Regions from separate parts of the Homo sapiens genome. Here regions 2 and 3 are each linked to region 1. Evidence: promoter capture Hi-C in 16 types of primary human blood cells and fetal thymus (Javierre and others, 2016). All regions are on one chromosome and are shown on one strand. Each heading gives the region's core, a stretch centred on a gene start or on the middle of the fragment in contact. The rest is flanking DNA. Distances are from core to core; before and after follow the strand shown. Region 1 holds the start of SCARF2 (scavenger receptor class F member 2). Region 2 overlaps RTN4R (reticulon 4 receptor). Region 3 holds the start of LINC00896 (long intergenic non-protein coding RNA 896).

Region 1 (4,409 bases), core at 115-2,614:
GTCCACACTAGTTCCACTTCTCTTTCAGCCCACCCCACCTCCCTCCTGCACCAGCATGGCTGAGTGAGGGGCCTGCTCCTCCCCATCCCACTCTCTGCCTGTGCCAGCCTGGTGATGCCCATGGCCTTGGGCCTTTCAGTGGCTCCTCCTCCAAGCCCCCTCCTCCAGCCCCACCCTTCGGGGCTATCTGGCCACACCTGGACAGAGTCTGCCTGCCCTCCCTCAGTGAGCCTGTGGGCCGCATGTGGCCTGCTCCCCAAAGAACGGAGGTGCCCGCTCCCTGCTTAGGCCTTCTGCCAGCTCTCAAGTCCCCAAAAGACAAACATCCTCACTAGGACCTGGCTACACACGGGACATTTGTGCTCCCTGCCCAACTTCCAGAGTCGGTCTGCCCCAGTTGCCCCCCGGGGACCCGCACCCTGCTGCCTCCCAGTCCAAGTCCAGCTTCCCCGCTGGCTCCCTAGGGCCTGTCCCTCTGTCTTGCTCCCTTCCCACACCTTCCTTCTGCTCTGTGCTGTTACCCACCTTACCTGATGCAGGAGTTCCCACTCTCTAGCCCCAGCCTCTCCTGGAAATCCGACAGCCAGCAGAATCCACCGCCCAGGCTCCCCCAGCCCCCTTCACTCCTCAACTAGGACTGCAGGGTTTCCATCCCGGGGGTCTCCTTCTGTCTTTACCTCTACTTCCTACCGCAGTCCACAGCCTGGCCATTCTACTTCCTCTGTATCTCTCCCATCCGTCCCTACGGAGACCCCTTCCCCCAGGCCTCTGGTCCGGACCGAGTCTACCACAGGCCTCAAGCATCCTGCTCGGTCCGCCCCTTGCGAGCTCTGAGTGCGCAGGAGTGCGCAGGGGGAGCTGACCGCACACCCCAGCACTACAAGGACTTCGCGGTGGGGTGCTGTGGAGTTGGCTTTCGGCCTCGACCTGGGCTGTCTGCGGGCCCCACTCCCTTGGCCGGTTCCGAGGCGCTGGGAGCGGGGGTGGGCTTGCGGAGTCGCGTCCGTGTCCCCGATCCGCCTTCCCGTCCCGGGCCTGGCCTACGCAGTGGGCGCGCAGGGGCGGCTGCTTCGGTAGATGTCTAGGGAGCGGAGGGAAAGGCGCGGGAACCGGGGATTCCTCGGGCGGACCCTCCCTCCACCAGCGCTCGGCGGGCCTCCTCCAAGTTCGCCCCCAAGTTTGCGAGCGGCCAAATGGGGGCGGGGGCTGCGCGGAGGGGCGGTGGCTAGGCCGGAGGGTGGGGTCTGGAGCGCGGGGCGGGCGCTGCCGCCTGGCCGGCCGCGGCTGGCCCGGGATCAGGGAGCCGATGTGGAATTTCCTGCCCGGCTCGGCGCCCCTCCTGCCGCCCCCCGCCCGGCCTCGCACTCCGCTTCCGGCCGCTCTCGCTGCGGCCGCACCCGCGCCCGTGCCCGCCCCGCGCCTGCCCCGCGCCTCATGGAGGGCGCAGGGCCCCGGGGGGCCGGGCCGGCGCGGCGCCGGGGAGCCGGGGGGCCGCCGTCACCGCTGCTGCCGTCGCTGCTGCTGCTGCTGCTGCTCTGGATGCTGCCGGACACCGTGGCGCCTCAGGAACTGAACCCTCGCGGCCGCAACGTGTGCCGTGCTCCCGGGTAGGAGCCGGCCTGGCTGGGGGAGGGGGCGAGAGGGACGCTCTGGGCAGTGGTGTGGCGGCGCCGGGCATTGGGAGGGGGCTACCGGAACCTTCCTACGCCAAGTGTGGGCCCCTTCGGCTCCCTAGCCAGCGCGGCTCCGTTCCAGGCCCAGCCTCGGCCATGGGCCACGACAGTGCATCCCAGGGAACCCTGGACGAGAAGTCACCTGAGGGGAGGATGGAGTGCCGTGGGCACCCAGGGGATGACACGCGTTGTCCGGGATATCAGGAAAGACCTGGAAAAAGGGACCCTTGACCGAGTTGTGAAGTCCACGGGGAAAAGCTGGGGAAGGGCATTCAAGCCAAAGGAACTGCATGTGCTAAAGCCCCGCACTAGTCCGACTGGAGCCGGGAGTGGGAGTGAGGAGGAAGGTCAGGGGAGGAGGAGCGGTGCTAGCCGGGGAGGTCCTGGAGCAAGCCAGACTTGGAAAGACAGATTCGCGTCTTAGAGCGGGCGCGGGTGGGAGGGTGGTGACCCAGGCGAGCGTCGAGGAGCCGGCGCTCGAAGTGGACCAGAAGCGGGAGGCGGAAGGACTATGACAGGCACAGGGGACCGGAGGATGTGGGAACCCTGGCGACAACCAGGTGGGGATTCTGGGTGCAAGAAGGGGCCGCGCAAATGTGGGGCGCCGGCTGGGGAAGCCAGTGTGGGACAGGCAGGCGACAGGCCCGGCCGGTGGGGGGGCGAGTCCGGGAGTTTGCACGGAGGGCAGAGAGGTGAGCCCCGGACGCCAGGAGTTAGGAGCTGGGGTCGGGGGAGCCGGTGGGCTGGCCAAAGGCCACAAGGTCAAGGGCATCTCCACGCAGGGGTGAGGAGCGGGCGTGTGGGGGCGCCTTGGCGCGGATTGGAGACGCCGCACGGGCTGGCAGCCGCAGAGGCGGCCGCCGGGCTCCGAGCTGGGTCGCGTCGGGGCGCCTGAGCCACGGACCCGGGGCAAGCCGAGTCCAGGGGCTCGGCGCCAGAGACAAGGGGCTGCGAGGGGGCAGCGCGGGGTTTCCGAACTCTGGTCCGGAGGCGCGCAGACCCCTCCCCGCTGCGAGCCCCGCCTCCGGGGCGGGGGCCGGCCTGGCCCGCCATCTGCTTCGCATCGATGCCGCCGCCGCGGACTCCCGGGCCTCCCCGGCCCCAGGAATGCAGCGGCGGCGGCGGGCGGGGCGGTGCCTGGAGAGGGGGAGGGCGCGATCGCCGTGGTCTCTGTCTACTCACTCCAGCCCTCTTTCCCAGACAGGCCCGGGACCAGGAATGGGGGTCCGGTGCCAGGCTCTAGCTGTCCGGAGCCTGAGAGCCCTTTGCTCCCGCTCCCCTGGTCTGCAGACCTCCCAGGAGGCGCCTGCTCCAGGAACCGAGCCTGGGTTTGGGTTCCCATCCTGGTGCCACCCTACCCAGCTGTGTGGACCTGGGCAAGTCATTTGACCTCTCTGGGCCTGTCTCCACCTCTGTAAAATGGGATAGTGATCACAACCCCCTCATGGGGCTAAGTGGAGATCGCTGTGGTCATGAGTGGCAAGGGTCGATGGGAAGGACAGCCACTCTGGGCACTGCCCACCTGGGGTCTGGGTCATGTCTTTGTTGTCCTCCCACATCTTGCAAGGCTTCCATCAGCCCTTCCCTTTCCTGGGAGGCAGGAGGATGGGGAGAGGAGAGTGCAAAGCCAGTAAAATCCTATGCACCTACACTGTGCCAGGCCTGTATTGGTGTAGGGAAGCTGCAGTGGAGACCCTGACCCTGTGGCAGAGGAGACACAGTCCAGAAAAGCAAGTGTGTCTAGACATCTAGCAAGAGCTGGGAGGTGTTGGGTTGGGGAGTGCTGTTTCCTTTAGGGTGTTCTGAGGAGAACGGCTGAGAAGGTGGTGAGTGAGCACAGGCCTGCAGAAGAGCACGGAGGCCCTGTGGGTGTCTGGGGCAAGGTTCCCAAGGCAGAGGGCCTGTGGAAGTACAGGAAGGATCCAGGAGGCTGGGCAGAGTCCAGGAGGGGCTGGCGGAGGAGCTGCCAGAGAGTGAGGGTGGGCAGGCCACCGTGGGCTGCCACTGCTCAGAAGACTTGGGCTTTTCTTCTGAGGGCCATGGGACCCCCTGGGGGCTTTGTACAGAGAAAGGGTGGGATCTGACCAGGATTGGCTGCCAGGTGGCAAACACTTCGCACCCTGGGGGGCAGGGGGTGGAAGCTGGGGCCAGTTACAAAAAGCCAGGGAGATGGAGGGTGGCTCTCACAAGGCTGGGATAGGGAAGGAGGAAGTGATCCCATTTTAGATATCGTTTAGAAGCTAGAGCTCAGCGTCTTTTTTCTCAATGGATCTGGTGTAGACAAGAAAGAAGAGTCAGAGATGCTTCTCCAGGTCTCAGCTTCCCAGCCTGAAAGGACAGGCAGGGTTATCTGAGGCAGGGAAGACTCAGGGTGCAAGGAGGTCAAGAGTTCAGGTTTGGGCTGGTTGGGCATGAGGCCCATGAGGTCTCCTTCTGGTGACATCATCTATTGGGCAGTTGGATTTGCAAGTCTAGCATTGATGGGGAGAGCCCTGCTGGAGGGTCCAAGGTGTTGTCAGTGTTCAGTGAGCTTCCCGAGGGAGCTAGTGTGGACACAAGAGAGATCTGAGGATGGGGACAGAAACCAGAGGAGAGGTGTCCAGGCGGGGCAGCAGGAGGGTCGGGCTGGTGTGGGGTCTGAAGGGTGTGGCAGGCAGAGAAGCTTTTCTGCCTGGATTTGGGGGAGAACATGGACAGGTATGGACCCCATGAGCCAACTTGAAGATGTAAGAACTC
Region 2 (4,593 bases), core at 11-2,510, 190 kb after region 1:
CTCGGCTCAGCTCCCTGGGCTGCTGGGGTGAGCTGCTGACCTCAGCAGCCGCCTGCCTGCCCAATGGCTGGGCATATCCCCAGAGCCTCCCACCGCCACCTCCCCATCCCCCTTCTCCACCCCTCCCCTCTGCTCCTGCCCTCCTCGCTCTCCTCCCACCTCCTCCTCCCCCCGCCACACTCCCTCCTGCAGTGAACGTGAACAGCCCTCCACTCACCAGAACTGATGGTGCAGGTGCCCACCTGGGCTGCCTGTTGCTCCCGTCAGGGGGATGCGTCCTGGACTGTTTGCTGCCCAGCCTCCTGGGCCTTCAGCCTGGTGATCCTGGGTCCTACCCTGCCCAGTCTGGCTGCCGCAGGGAGAGGCTCTGGGTCAGTATCCGGTCACTGTCCCCGCTGGGAAAGCTCAGAGCCTTCCAGGCAGGAGAGCCAGCCCTCCCCTGACTGTGGCTCCTGAGCCAGGCCTGGGCTGAGACAGGAGCTCCTAGCTATGACCCAGCCCTGACAGCCAGCAGGGCCATCCTCCGGGGAGGTCCCAGGAGGAGACCCTGGAGGAAAGAAGAGATGTTAATTGGCCTGGGAGGGTGGGAGAGGCACAGATGTACCAGTTTGTGTGCAGCTTGGAGGCTGAGGAGAGCCCTCTGGGGCCCTCGCAGGCTCAGGTGGCCGCAGGGCCAACCTGGGTGGGGACGGTGGACAGGCACGCTATCCATGGTTTCTCTGTGAGAGCTGGGGCCATGGCAGGGCTGGTTGCTCACCCCGTGTGCAAGGGGCAGGAAGGACAGAGCTCATACTGGAGGCTCCGTGAGAACTGGGGCCAGGGTGAGACTGGGTGAGAGTGGAAAGTGGGGTGATGGCAGGCAGGGAGGCCATGCTATCTCCAGAAGGACAGTAGAGCATCCTATTAGAGTTGGCCAGGCAGATAGAGGAGAGAGAAAGGTGGGCGAGAGGGCCAGAGAGGCCTTGTGGCCTTGAGGCTGCAGAGCCCAGGGGACAGGTCAGGGGCCACGGGCCAGGGAGGTCTTTTGGGGTGGGGAGGGGCTGCAGTCCACCATGGGGCCAGGGAGGAGGCTGGTGAGTCACCAGTCTGGCCCCTGGGATGGGGTCAGAGGACACCCTCCCCCCACCTGGCTGCGTCTCCCTCATCCCAGGGCCCCGGCTGTGAAGACAAACCCATGCTGCAAAGTTGGGTTTGATTATCTCATAAAAAGATGCCCCCTCCTGCTCGCTCAGCAGAGGGGTTGCCATGGAGACCAGCGGGCAGGCCCCAAGGGGGGCCAGGCTGGAGCCAATTACCATGGCTGCAGCGAGGAGAGAGCCCACCTCACCCGACTCTCAGAAGTTGGTTTACGAAAAGCAGTTGTCTCGGCAGGAACCGAGCCGTGTCTTTGCGCCCAATACCCACTTCCTGGCAGAACTGAGCGCCACGTGGCCACTCCCCCATGTCCTCCCCTGTCTCCCCCGACCCCGCACCACCGTGTGGCTCAGTTCTGGCACCTCACTGGGGGCATGTTTAGAGTGGACACACAGCTGCTTCGGGAGGGAGATCCATGAGCACAGGGCTCGGTTCAAGGCGAGTGAGCTGAGCCCTGACCACAGCCAGACTCACAGCCCACAGCTTCGGGCCTGGAGCCACAGGACAGTGGTGGGATGGTGGCATGGCTCAGTGGTAATGTGGCGGGCGTGGCCACCATGGGTGGCTAGTCTTGGTGGGTGCAGTCAGCCGCATGGTATGGTTGGTGACAAGGCTCAGTTGGTGACCCCCACAGTCAGTGGTGTGGTGTGGTCGATAATGTGGCAGTGAGTCCTGACCCTGCCCCATGAGCATGTGGGGCCTCCACCCCACCTGGCCCCAGGACAGGAAGTGCCATTTACATAGCACAGTTTTCCCTCTGGTGACAGCAGGTGAGACAGCAGTGGGGAGCTGACATGGTCAGGCCCCACCTTCCTAGGAAGAGTGTGTAGAAAGAGAGCAGAGAGGGTGTCCGCAGTTTAAACAGAACACGAGGCCAGGTGCTTTCCTCACCCAGCCCACCCAGGGAGGGGCCTCCGGACCCCCATCCCTGGGCTGCCATCTCCCTGGTAGCCAACAAATGGCCCTGGGGCAGGGGGTTTGGCAGAGGAGGCCCCCAGGCTGTGGGGAGGGGGTCTGAGGACCTATGAACCTGAGTCTGGGAGGACGCACATGCCCAGCGGTCACTGCGCGTGCTGGGCTTGCTGGGCTCTGCGTTTAGGGCGACTGCACTGTCTGCCCAAGTAGAGAGGACCCAGTGGGGCAGGGGCCCCATGTGGGTAGGAGGGCCCCAGGGTCACAGTTCTAGGTTGGGGAAGCTGGCCTGTGGTCCACTCCTTCCTCCTGCCCGGCTCCAACCCCAGCACTTAGCCGGCCTCATGTCTGCAGAATCCTGCTCTTAGCCAGCTGCCGTGGAAGGTGTTAGCTGTCAACGCAGGTGTTAGCTGATAACTCAAGTGTTAGCTGATAAGCCATAACCTTCCCAGGGGGATTCACATTTTAATAGACTCACTGCTGAAGGCAGAAAGAATCTTCAGCATTCCAAAGGGGTGGGGGCTCAATGGTGGAATGAGAGGCAGGAAAGCTTACTCCGGAGTGGGTGACCCCGCTGGTGAGACCAGCTCTGGATGCGGCACCCCGGGAGGGACTACTGCCCATGTAGGGCCTTGGTGAAGCCCCAGGTGTATCTGGCCCTGTAATGGAGGAGGGGTTGCAGGCACCTGGGGCTGGGGGAGAACCCACTGGGAGGCTATCCCTGCTGATGGCGTCTGGGTGGGAGGGGTGCAGGCAGCTGGCACTGCAGGGGTTGGCTGGGGAGGAGTGAACTCCTCCCAGGGAGGAGATGGAGCAGAGAATGAGGCCAGGGGGCGGAGGCTTCAGGAGGGTTCCTGCCAAGTCAGGAAGTGCTTGAAAGGAGGATGTGTGGAGGAGGGAGCAGGCTGCCTGGGTGGTTGTGGGACGCGACTCCTCCTAAGCCCTGGACACACTTGCCCTCCACCCCCGCCCTCGGGCATCCAGGCGCCCGTTTTTGAGATAGACGTGCCCAGAGGGACCCCAGCCCCATTGCAGTGTTTCCTAGGCCCTGTGGGTGGAACCCCCACTGGGACCCCCCGGGGACTCCTGCAATGCGGGCTCTGTGTTCACTGGAGTCCTGAGGAGGTACCTGCAGTCACCAGTGTCCATTCCAGGAGGCCTTCAAGTGAGTGCCCCTGGTGACCCAGTGGGCTGCTCCTGGGTGTGGTATGGGGAGTCTGCAGATGTGGCTTCCAGGGTGGAGTGCATGGCTCCAAGGCATGTTCTAGCCCAGCATCGTCCATGAGGCCTGTGAAGCAGGGATCCCAACACTGCGATTCCCGGGGGTGGTGGCCACATCTTGGACCCAGCCCCAGGTCCTCCTGAGACCCAATCTCCGGGGCCCACCTGGCTCTAGCAAAACCTCCAGCTTCTCCAGTACCCCTGCCCTTCCTGCTAACCACTCTGTCTTCTGCCCACAGGGAGCCGGCTGCTGGCATGGGTGCTGTGGCTGCAGGCCTGGCAGGTGGCAGCCCCATGCCCAGGTGCCTGCGTATGCTACAATGAGCCCAAGGTGACGACAAGCTGCCCCCAGCAGGGCCTGCAGGCTGTGCCCGTGGGCATCCCTGCTGCCAGCCAGCGCATCTTCCTGCACGGCAACCGCATCTCGCATGTGCCAGCTGCCAGCTTCCGTGCCTGCCGCAACCTCACCATCCTGTGGCTGCACTCGAATGTGCTGGCCCGAATTGATGCGGCTGCCTTCACTGGCCTGGCCCTCCTGGAGCAGCTGGACCTCAGCGATAATGCACAGCTCCGGTCTGTGGACCCTGCCACATTCCACGGCCTGGGCCGCCTACACACGCTGCACCTGGACCGCTGCGGCCTGCAGGAGCTGGGCCCGGGGCTGTTCCGCGGCCTGGCTGCCCTGCAGTACCTCTACCTGCAGGACAACGCGCTGCAGGCACTGCCTGATGACACCTTCCGCGACCTGGGCAACCTCACACACCTCTTCCTGCACGGCAACCGCATCTCCAGCGTGCCCGAGCGCGCCTTCCGTGGGCTGCACAGCCTCGACCGTCTCCTACTGCACCAGAACCGCGTGGCCCATGTGCACCCGCATGCCTTCCGTGACCTTGGCCGCCTCATGACACTCTATCTGTTTGCCAACAATCTATCAGCGCTGCCCACTGAGGCCCTGGCCCCCCTGCGTGCCCTGCAGTACCTGAGGCTCAACGACAACCCCTGGGTGTGTGACTGCCGGGCACGCCCACTCTGGGCCTGGCTGCAGAAGTTCCGCGGCTCCTCCTCCGAGGTGCCCTGCAGCCTCCCGCAACGCCTGGCTGGCCGTGACCTCAAACGCCTAGCTGCCAATGACCTGCAGGGCTGCGCTGTGGCCACCGGCCCTTACCATCCCATCTGGACCGGCAGGGCCACCGATGAGGAGCCGCTGGGGCTTCCCAAGTGCTGCCAGCCAGATGCCGCTGACAAGGCCTCAGTACTGGAGCCTGGAAGACCAGCTTCGGCAGGCAATGCGCTGAAGGGACGCGTGCCGCCCGGTGACAGCCCGCC
Region 3 (4,034 bases), core at 10-2,509, 230 kb after region 1:
CCCAACTCTGCAGCCAGGAAGCCCCGTAGTGTGAAGGATGGGGACATCGCGATGCCCTGGCCCTGAGCCCACCAGGTGGCCCCAGGGCCCCACCCTGCCTGGCTCTTCCTGCATGGGTCTGGGGTGATGGGGGCTCATCTGAGGCCCAGTGCTGCCCACCTCGAATCCCCAAATCCCAAATTGGATTAGTTGTGTTTAGAAAGCAGCAAAGCTGCTATATTTGAGCAAAGGCTCAGCAGATTACCCTGGGCCAAGAGGGTGTCTGCCTGTGTGAGGGGGATTTGAGGAGGAAAAACTGCACTAAACAAGTGTTCATTGAAAAGAAACTTGGGGGATCATCTGAGTCAGCCGGGCCCTCCACCTGCCCCATAACACCTTCTCCAGCATGGGCTCCTGCTGCTGCTGGGACAACCAAGCAGGAGTGGACGGGGTCAGGCCACAGGCCACTGGGCCCAAGGCCAGGAAGGGGCGCCCAGGACTGCCCATGGGAGAAGGGCGTGGTGCCGACACGAGGTCACCTGGAGTCCCTGGGACTGGCCCTCCACCTCGTGACTCAGTCGCCACCCGGTGGCCCTCTCAGAAGCCCAGGGCCCAGCATACAGGAAGCTCCATGAGTGCTCATCATCACACACACTCCAGAGGCTGAGAACATCTTGGAGGCCTGGGGCCTGCTGGCCAGACCCTGTCCTGGGCCCTGAACACAGGCTGGGCCTGGAAGGGACAGTGAGGGGGGCCAGAGCCCATGCCTGCTCAGTGCAGCAAGCCCAGGCACCTGGTGGGTGGGCCCTGCAGCCAGGGAGGCCCCTGCACCCCACCCTTCCCAGCCCTGCCCTGGGTACCGTGTGCCACATCTCAGAGCCCACCCATGGGGCCCTCCCAACTCCAGCCAGGAGGGAGGATAGAGAACTTTTATTTCAGAAGAGTGCAAATAAACAAATCCTTCCTTCCCCCACCATAAAGAGCCCGGCTGGCTTTAGGAGAGAAGGCAGAATTTTTAGCCTCTCCTTTCCTCAAGGCACAGCAGGCCGAGCCTGTGTCACTCATGGCCCCTTTTACAAGTAAAGAATCCAGCTCTGGGCAGTCAGGTCTGCCCAGTGGAGGTGTTTGCCCTGGGGGGCCGGCTCACCTATCCGTAGGACCTGGCTCCTAGGGGTCCAGCCAGTCCCTGGCCTCCTGTTGATACGGAAAGGAAGTGCTGAGAAGGGAAAAGCGTGGTCCCTTTAAATGATACAGAGGAGGGACGGGAAGTGCTCCGTAGAGAAGGGCGTGGTCCCTGCCTAGGGCTCCACCCCCACGAACCTAGGTGAGGACAGGCATTTCCTGCCCAAATGTTGCATTTCCCAAGACCACCCTGGCCTGCCATGCCTCCATCCTATGCCTATAAAAACCCAAGACCCTAGCAAGGCAGAGACAGAAGCCTCTGTGTGGGGAGAGGAACACACTGGTGGAAGAAGACAAGCTGCTGGACATCCCGAGAATGTTGCCTGACTCCAGGGGAAAACCATCTCCCCTCTGGCTCCCCCATCTGCTGAGAGCTACTTCCACTCAATAAAACCTTGCACTCATTCTCCAAGCCCACGTGTGATCCAATTTTTTGGTACACCAAGGCAAGAAACCCTGGGATACAGAAATTCCTCTGTCCTTGTTATAAGGCAGGGGTCTAATTGAGCTCACTCTCACCAGCCACCTACAGACCGCTAGACTAAAAGACCACCCGGTAACGCACTCCCACTGGGGTTTCAAGAGCTGTAAACATTCACCCCCAGACACTGCCATGGGGTCAGAGCCCCACAGCCTGCCCGTCTGTATGCTCCCCTAGAGGTGTGAGCGGTGGGGCACTGAAGAAGCGAGCCACTCCCCCGCTGCATGCCCTGCGCCCTGCGCGGGGTAACCAGGGAACCCTTCCTGTTTCACTGTTTCACTGGGTAGAGATCTCCCGGCTGGAGACAGAATGGTGGGGAGAGGCCAGATGTGCCCAGCAGGTAGGGGATTCTCCAGGGGGGAGGCTGAGGCTGTTAGGAAAGGAGGGGCTGAGGGGGCGCCACAGCCCTCCCCGCTCCGCACCACACCCCACGTTAAACCCCTGTCCTCCACTCCTCTCCTGGGGCTAAGGAGGCTGAGAGTAGAGCTCAGAGGCCCACGCCCAGCACACAGGAGGCAGTGGGGGCTGTGGACGGGGCCAACGAGCCATGGGGTTGCTGGGCTGAAGCACCGGTGATGGCAGGCGTGTGAGAGGGAAGTGGGGGTGAGCCAGCCCTGTGGGCCTCTAGGCCCAGCTTCTGGGTATCCTGGCCCCCTGGAATGACCCAGGGCAGGAGCCTCTGACACCCGCCCCAAATGCCTGTGACCCCGTCCTGAGTGGGGGTCCTCCTTCTGGCCGTGACCGCCCTGGAGTGGCTTCTCAGCATTTTGTGGTCAGCACTCTCAGCCCCTCTGCCTTGCACCGTGTCATTTTCAGCAGATCCTGAGCCAGAGAAGGCCATCAATTATTCAGCTCCTGCCTCTCAGCCTCCTCCGTTAGTACCTCTTAAAGCCGGGAAGATAAATCTCTCCGCTTGCTCCGTGGCGCCGACAGGAAGCAGGGCGGCACCAGGACCGTGACAGGCCCCGGCTGGGCCCCGGTTTCCCGAGCCAGCACAGGCGGCCTGCAAGGCTTCTCTGCTATTAAATCCATAATTCAGCGGCAACGCAGCTGGGGCCTGGCACACAGGGTCCCTGTGATGAGGAGGGGCTGCCCCTGCCGGAATGCACCAGAGGCTGCCACCAGGGAGAGAGTTACAAGGACCACTTCCGTGGACCTGGCAGGTCCTAGGGCCCCCTTTAAAATTGTGCCTGGGGAGAGTCCCTGGCGCTGCTCCGGAGGATCATGGAGCCCGACTCTACTCACAGGGGAGACCACACAGCTTCTGCGGGGCAAGACAGCTGAGGAGCATGTCAGGCAAGCGACGGGCATGGGGGGTGGGGGGGAGCACAGCGTGGTCTGCATGCCCTCAGCCACGCCCAGGGTGACCCTGGAGGCCTGCATGGAAGACCCTGGAAGCGTCCTTGGCCACCCCTGGTGGAAGAGACAGCTCCAGCCTCACCTTTCTAGGACAGTGCCATCTGCCACCAAGGCAGCTCCAGAGAGTGGGACAGCTGTGAGAGGCGGGACCTGTCCAGGCTCCCTGATGGGCACTCACAGCCCCCTTCACCCTCAGCGAGGCACTTGCCCCAATGAAAACTGAGCAGTTGGACAATCTGATGTCTTGGAGGGTCCAGGTCAGCCCCCCACCCCAATGCCCAGCCCTGCATAACCAAGGAAGCGTTTGTTGAATGGCTGAGTCCCACCCCTGCTCCAACCTTGGCAGGCCTTGGAGTGTCCCCGGCAGGAAGTGGAGGGTGAACACAGGGGGACAAAGTAACAGGGCAGCAGAGCTGGGGTGGGGCCAGGCTGGGCAGACTGGGGAATGAGACCTACTCAGAACACCGCCCTCGGCAGAGCCACCCACCCCTATCCTTGCAAACCCTCTGCCCCAGGGCCCACTCTAAACCCATGAGAGCTGTGGCAGGACAGGGTGACTCCAGGCCTGGCCAGGAGGCTCCGGCTGACTCCGCCCCCTTCTCCTTCCCCTCCCCACTTCCCATTCCACAGGCCTCCACAGGGCAGGGGCCGTGACAGGGGTGACAGAAGTTCGGAGAGGTCACTGAGTCCCTGCAATTAGCAGTAATGAGTTGACACATGCCACAGGTCAAGTGCTAATGCAGGCTGATAATTAACTCAACCTGCTAGGAAGCGGTGCAGCCCCTCCTCCCTCTGATCAATTATCCTCAGGATGTTGAACAGCCCCGCCCCAGGGCTAATGGGGTCACATTCCAACCATAATGACGTGGCTGCTGCACCAGAAACACTGGGCTGGTGCCGGGAACACCCCCATCCCAGACTGGAGACCTCCCCCAGCCCCTCCAGATGAGGGTCCTGCCCTGCTCACTGGCTCCTGCCCCAACCCTGCTCCTGGGGCCTTCCTGACTCGCCACCTTGCACTTCCCAGGGACAG

Evidence for each region. Contacts are between HindIII fragments. The CHiCAGO score rates a contact against its expected background, and 5 or more counts as called.
Region 2: a fragment that was not itself captured here is called in contact with the fragment with the promoter of SCARF2 in region 1 in 1 of 17 cell types (erythroblasts); the score reaches 5.9 in erythroblasts.
Region 3: the fragment with the promoter of LINC00896 here is called in contact with the fragment with the promoter of SCARF2 in region 1 in 2 of 17 cell types (M1 macrophages and erythroblasts); the score reaches 6.3 in M1 macrophages.

What each region holds. Positions count from the first base shown.
Region 1 is chr22:20,434,780-20,439,188 of GRCh38, reverse strand. SCARF2 (scavenger receptor class F member 2) reads left to right here and starts at 1,364. Exons shown (of 11, transcript NM_182895.5): 1 at 1,364-1,607. The coding sequence starts at 1,435. It overlaps LOC107985588 (a long non-coding RNA gene), which reads right to left and starts at 1,193. Exons shown (of 2, transcript XR_001755623.2): 1 at 678-1,193. The HindIII fragment of the contact is 6,009 bases long and covers 1-4,337 here.
Region 2 is chr22:20,242,024-20,246,616 of GRCh38, reverse strand. RTN4R (reticulon 4 receptor) reads left to right here. Exons shown (of 2, transcript NM_023004.6): 2 at 3,507-4,593. Among named protein-coding and RNA genes, the nearest start is that of MIR1286, 4.9 kb to the left of the region's middle. RefSeq lists enhancers at 2,853-2,902, 3,318-3,910. The HindIII fragment of the contact is 2,676 bases long and covers 1-2,598 here.
Region 3 is chr22:20,203,557-20,207,590 of GRCh38, reverse strand. It overlaps LINC00896 (long intergenic non-protein coding RNA 896), which reads right to left and starts at 1,259. Exons shown (of 1, transcript NR_026919.1): 1 at 1-1,259. LOC105372862 (a long non-coding RNA gene) reads left to right here. Exons shown (of 3, transcript XR_938009.3): 3 at 1,346-1,573. LINC02891 (long intergenic non-protein coding RNA 2891) reads left to right here and starts at 2,673. Exons shown (of 4, transcript NR_038460.2): 1 at 2,673-2,938; 2 at 3,092-3,258. RefSeq lists enhancers at 903-1,142, 3,698-4,034. The HindIII fragment of the contact is 30,249 bases long and covers 1-4,034 here.